Linked DNA regions of Homo sapiens: region 1 is linked to region 2. Evidence: promoter capture Hi-C in 16 types of primary human blood cells and fetal thymus (Javierre and others, 2016). All regions are on one chromosome and are shown on one strand. Each heading gives the region's core, a stretch centred on a gene start or on the middle of the fragment in contact. The rest is flanking DNA. Distances are from core to core; before and after follow the strand shown.

Region 1 (2,822 bases), core at 196-2,695, 330 kb before region 2:
ATTTTTTAAATGAAATCTTACCTACAAAACTAAAGCTCCTTTCTCCTATGCATATTTTAGTATTTTCTGTAAGTATATATAACTCTGAACACTATATACTATTATGTGTTTTTCAGTTGTGGAAATAGAAACTCTTACTCTGCTGGCAGGAACTTAAGTTGGTAGGGGCTTTGGAGAACAATTTGGCAATACCCAAAAGAGTTGGCAGTGGTCTGTGTCAGTTGTCTCATGCTGCACAACAAACTACCCCAAACTTAGTGGCTTAAAACAGTGATTTCTTATTTCTCCTAATTCTGTGAGTTGCTGGGGTAGTCCCTCTGCTTGTTTTGCCTGGACTCATTGATGCAGCCGCATTCAGCTGGGAGATTGGCTGGGCTGGAGGGCTCAAAATGGCCTCAGTCACATGTCTGGTGGTTCATGCTGGTTGTTGGTTCTCTACATGTGGCCTTATCACTTGCAATAGACTTCCTTATGTGGTAGTCTGAGGGCAGTGGTCCAAGACGCAAGGCCTCTTGAGGTCTGAGCCCTGAACTCGCATAGTGTGGCTTCCATGCGTTTTGTTGGTCAAACCAAGTCACAAGGCCAGCTCCACCTTTTGATGGAAGGAGTGGCAAAGTCACACTGCATAGGAGCATGGAAAGACATCTCGCCTCCATCTTTGAAGACATATCCTGTAATTCAGCTATTTTACTTTTATCTATCCCAGAAAAAATCTTTCACAGATAGAGAGATATGTACACATTGTTCACAGCAGAATTGTTTATAATAGCAAAAAAGTAAAAACAATTTAAGTCATTCCAGGAAGAAGCAGATAATAAATTTTAGTTTATTCATATAATGGAATACCATATATCAATTAAAATTAATGATCACTGGATAATTCTAAAAATAGGTTGAATGAAAAAATCAGATTGGAAAAGAATATGATAGTATAATAGCCTTAAAGTTCAATATTTGAAGTTTCTTGGGTAGGCTAATGAAGATTTTGCTTTTGCTTCTGTTTTGAAATCAAAACTTATCTTTGGATGGCCTCATTAGAGCATGGTGCTTATGAGTAGCTTCCATCCTTGGATGGCCAGTTAAGCTGTGCTGTTCTCTGACCAGACGGGCTGTCACTAAAAAGCTTGTGTTTAGCTTGTTGGCCATTTGGGAAAGTGTAGCTCTTTCATTTGAGAAGGTGTAGGTAGAGCTGATAAAGGTTTAACTTCATCAGTAATGTTAGAAAAGTCCATATACAGTACAGTTTCTTTTTTAAAATTTTTTTTCTAGAATATAGTTTCTTAACATTCATTTAATACCACTGTCTGCATCTGTACCAGGTTTAACCTGCATTTCTTATCTGTAAATGGGAAGCATGATATTTACCTCGTAGAGGTGTTGGGAAGATGAATTGAGATAATAATGCATTTAAAGCAGTACCTTTTATATGGTAGATCCTCTATAAACAGTAGTTAGAAAAATTAACAAGTATATAGGATGGCATCTATGTTAAGTTCACTTTCAATGGTATTGTAGTGAGAAGGTAGCATTGATTACCTACTCATAGGTACTTTAAGTAGGTACTTTAATTAAATTTTAGGACTACTGTAATTATGAAAGTCCATTATTAACTATAATACTTTACATTTTAAAGGAAATTTACATTTATAAACTCTTTTCACATTAATTATCTGATTTTGTTCTCAGGACAACTTTGTAAGATAGTTATATTCAATTTAGAGACATTGAATATTAGTTTCAGGAGAGGTTAAATAAGCAGTGTTAGCAGAAAGCTTATGTTGGTTCTCATGAAGGCAGATTAAAATGGAAATAATGATACCATAATACTTTGATTTTTATCATTTGTGTTTATGTGCTTTACCTACCTAGATTCTGAATAGATTTGTCTCTGTACTTTTTTCCCCCTTCTGTGTGTGTGGGAAGGGGAAGGAGGAGGAGGAGGAAAAGAGATTATAGAAGAGGGTTAGGTGAATCTTAATGGGACTCTTTGGAAAGGGAGAACTGCAGCCTGCCTCTCAGATCCAAAAATGTTATATTAACGCCACCCTCTCAGCTCCCTATATTTTAAAATAGCCAAGCAGATTGGCAAGATTTTTTTTTTTTCAGATTTGTAAATGTTCGATGGCAACTAAGTCTATGCATCAAAGATTTGAGGAGATTTCTCTAGGTTGACTATGGATTAGAATTAACCACCAAATTTACTAGCCATGTAGGATTTGCTAAGCCAATGTGACAAATTTATTTGGTGACTTCTGTTTATAAATGCATTGATTCAATTAAATTCTTTCTCCAAGATAAAAGTTATGCTTTTTTTTTCTTTTTTTAAATTTCCTATTTTGGTTGTATGCTTTAAAAGTTTGAGATAGGTTGGGTGTGGTGGATCACTTGAGGCCAGGAGTTCAAGACCAGCCTGGCTAACATGGCAAAAACCTGTCTCTACTAAAAATACAAAAATTAGCTGGGTGTGATGGTGCATGGCTGTAATCCCAGCTACTCAGGAGGCTGAGGCACAAAAATCGCTTGAACCTGGGAGGCGGAGGTTGCAGTGAGCTGAGATTATGCCACTGTACTCCAGCCTGGGCGACAGAGTGAGACACTGTCTCAAAAAAAAAAAAAAGTTTAAGATAAACCTATAAATTTGTAACTCTCCAGCTTTGTTGGTTGAAGGAAACTATTGGTGGCTGGTATTTTGGGTAATCTCACTTCTTGGCTAACTCCCGTTAAGGATGTTTTATAATGAAAAAAAGTAGGTACTTCACATATTAGGTTTTTATCACCTCACTTTCCTAGTATCATAAATAAATCGTTTTTTCACCATTTGT
Region 2 (3,043 bases), core at 345-2,844:
CTCACCAACTCCGGAAAACCTGCATGGGTCTATAGGGAGACCCCTGCTGAGCTGAATTTGACTTCACAGTATTACCATCCGTCACAACCTCGTGTTGTTATGGGTGTGGCAAGACTTCTGTTATGCCTGATTCCAGCCAGTTATATATAAAAGATCTCCTGCTCCAACCTGGCCCTACGTGGTGGGTAGCCTGGGCCCTGAGAATGTTTTCTTCTACAATGGACAGGCCAAAGGAGGACAGAGGGGGTTACAAAAAGATAATATCCATCAGAGGCAAAGAGTACTCAAAAGTGAACTTCTACCATTTCCACTGGATATTGATTAACTTCCCTGAGCCTCAGTTTCCTCATTCGTTTATGAGAGTAGCCCAGGAGGCATCTACCCCTCCCAACCCGCCAGGATTGCTGAGAGGACAGAGTACGCGTGCAAGGTTTTGCAATGTGCCAGAGCTTAGTAAGTGTTAGCACTTATGAAAACAGCGTTTATATATCATTTGGGTCATGGGACTCTTGGAAAACCTGATGATACCTATGGTTTCTTCCTGCCTCCGCCCCACCCCCACCTTCCAGCCTCCAAAAATGTCACCTCCAAAAAACAAATAAGGCAGGGCGCGGTGGCTCACGCCTGTAATCCCAGCACTTTGGGAGGCCGAGGCGGGCGGATCACAAGGTCAGGAGATCTAGACTATCCTGGCTAACACGGTGAAACCCCGTCTCTACTAAAAATATAAAAAATTAGCCGGGGCCGGGCGCGGTGGCTCACGCCTGTAATCCCAGCACTTTGGGAGGCCGAGGCGGGTGGATCACGAGGTCAGGAGATCGAGACCATCCTGGCTAACACGGTGAAACCCCGTCTCTACTAAAAATACAAAAAATTAGCCGGGCGTGATGGCGGGCGCCTGTAGTCCCAGCTACTCGGGAGGCTGAGGCAGGAGAATGGCGTGAACCCGGGAAGCGGAGCTTGCAGTGAGCCGAGATCGCGCCACTGCACTCCAGCCTGGGCGACAGAGCGAGACTCCGTCTCAAAAAAAAAAAAAAAAAAAAAAAAAAAAAAATTAGCCGGGCGTGGTGGCGGGTGCCTGCAGTCCCAGCTGCTCTGGAGGCTGAGGCAGGAGAATGGCGTGAACCCGGGAGGCGGAGCTTGCAGTGAGCCTAGATGGCGCCACTGCACTCCAGCCTGGGCGACAGAGCGAGACTCTGTCTCAAAAACAAACAAACAAACAAAAAACAAATAAGACTCGCCGACCCATGCCATAGATTGACGACCCTTGAAGGTGGCTCGTGTACCCAGGTTAAGCCACGTGTCTCTAAAATGTTCATTTAGGCGGCGCTGTGTTACCTGCGGGAATCCCCGACCTGCGGCTCCTGACCACGGGCCACCCCGCCCAGACCCTGCAGGCGGGCTCTCCACGAGGGTCTGCGCAGCCCCGCGGGGGTCCTGACAGGCCGAGCGACTGCAGTAGGAGGGGGCGGGCCCGGCTCTCGGTCCGCCCCCACGCCGGGCTCGGGGTGGGGGCTCGGGGCCTATTACGGGATGGAAGCTCCGGGTGTCGCGGGGGCGGGAGGAATTAAGGGAGGGAGAGAGGCGCGCGGGTGAAAGGCGCATTGATGCAGCCTGCGGCGGCCTCGGAGCGCGGCGGAGCCAGACGCTGACCACGTTCCTCTCCTCGGTCTCCTCCGCCTCCAGCTCCGCGCTGCCCGGCAGCCGGGAGCCATGCGACCCCAGGGCCCCGCCGCCTCCCCGCAGCGGCTCCGCGGCCTCCTGCTGCTCCTGCTGCTGCAGCTGCCCGCGCCGTCGAGCGCCTCTGAGATCCCCAAGGGGAAGCAAAAGGCGCAGCTCCGGCAGAGGGAGGTGGTGGACCTGGTGAGTCCGAGGGAGCCGAGCCGGGACCGCCGCGCTGGTGGAGGGGACCTGGCCGCGCGCCCCACGGGCAGGGCGTCAGTCTGGCTGTTGGGGGTGTCTGTCTGTACAGCTGTGTGTCGTGTGTCTTGCTGCGCCGGGGTGTCATGCTTTTTATTTACAGGTGAAGAAGGACCTGGTTATGCGTGCAGTGAGTCTTGGAACTCAGAGGGGAGACCAAAATGGGAGGCCATCGTGGAGCGGACATGCGATATGGGCCCGGTGGGTCTCCCCGAAGTACAGGGAGTCCCCCAATAATTTCTGGCCCCAGGGGGACCCCTTGGGAAGGGTGGGAGGGATAGGGCGGCAGTGAGAGTAGGATGAGGAGCTTGGGTACGTCCGAAGTGGACCTGGGAAAAACCCTGGCCTCGCTGATCACATGGACCTGGGCCTGGGCCAGGGCGGTGCAACGTGTCCTTTGTTGGGGCTGGTGGCCACGTCTGCCTGCGAGAGAGAATAACAACCCCCACAAAGCATCCGTCCAACTCTTTGTAACTTGAAGACTATGAGTCACGTTGGGTCATCTTCCTAGGGAGTATGGGCTGCAATTTACTTTGTTGGACAACCACAGCTGGGGCTAGGAATGGTTCAGAAGGTTTAAGGCCGGAAAGGGAAATGAAGGGGCCCGGCGCTAACCCTCTAAGGACCTGTTTTGCTTCTGTTTAAACCAAATGGGCAGTCTGTCATTACACACACCCTGGGTCTTCATATGTGGCCGCCAGGTAGGAGCATCACAGTCAAGCTACGGGAGAAAACAGTTTCCAGGAAACTGGAAATGAACGGCCCGAGTGCTTTCCAGGGGCTCATCTGTGGGAAGGTATGTTTGCTTAAAATCCTTCCCTCTAAAAATCAACAAACCCAGTGGAGGGCGGAGAGGTTCTCTGGCCTGTGGTATGAGGGAGCCTTTCAGAGCTACCGTAGTCCTTGGCATATTATAAACTTCAGTCTCACTTGCAGACAAACATGATTTACAGGCATTGCAAGACATAAGTTGGGGCATTTTTTTTTAATTAAAAAGAAAGTTTTGAATTTGTTAAGCTGCCATTTTAAACTGAGCTAATATACCAAGTTCCCTGGCAGCTAGTTCTGTATTGGATTCAAAAGTGCTGGGAAAAAAATTCCCGCCATTTCACACAGCACTTTT

Evidence for each region. The method cuts DNA at HindIII sites, captures the fragments that hold promoters and counts their contacts. A CHiCAGO score of 5 or more calls a contact.
Region 1: a fragment that was not itself captured here is called in contact with the fragment with the promoter of CTHRC1 in region 2 in 1 of 17 cell types (total B cells); the score reaches 6.0 in total B cells.

What each region holds. Positions count from the first base shown.
Region 1 is chr8:103,037,811-103,040,632 of GRCh38, forward strand. The region is part of intron 1 of ATP6V1C1 (ATPase H+ transporting V1 subunit C1); the gene reads left to right. Among named protein-coding and RNA genes, the nearest start is that of ATP6V1C1, 18 kb to the left of the region's middle. The HindIII fragment of the contact is 649 bases long and covers 1,122-1,770 here.
Region 2 is chr8:103,369,944-103,372,986 of GRCh38, forward strand. CTHRC1 (collagen triple helix repeat containing 1) reads left to right here and starts at 1,595. Exons shown (of 4, transcript NM_138455.4): 1 at 1,595-1,863. The coding sequence starts at 1,714. RefSeq lists enhancers at 1,255-2,049, 2,050-2,843 and a silencer at 1,479-1,598. The HindIII fragment of the contact is 4,990 bases long and covers 1-3,043 here.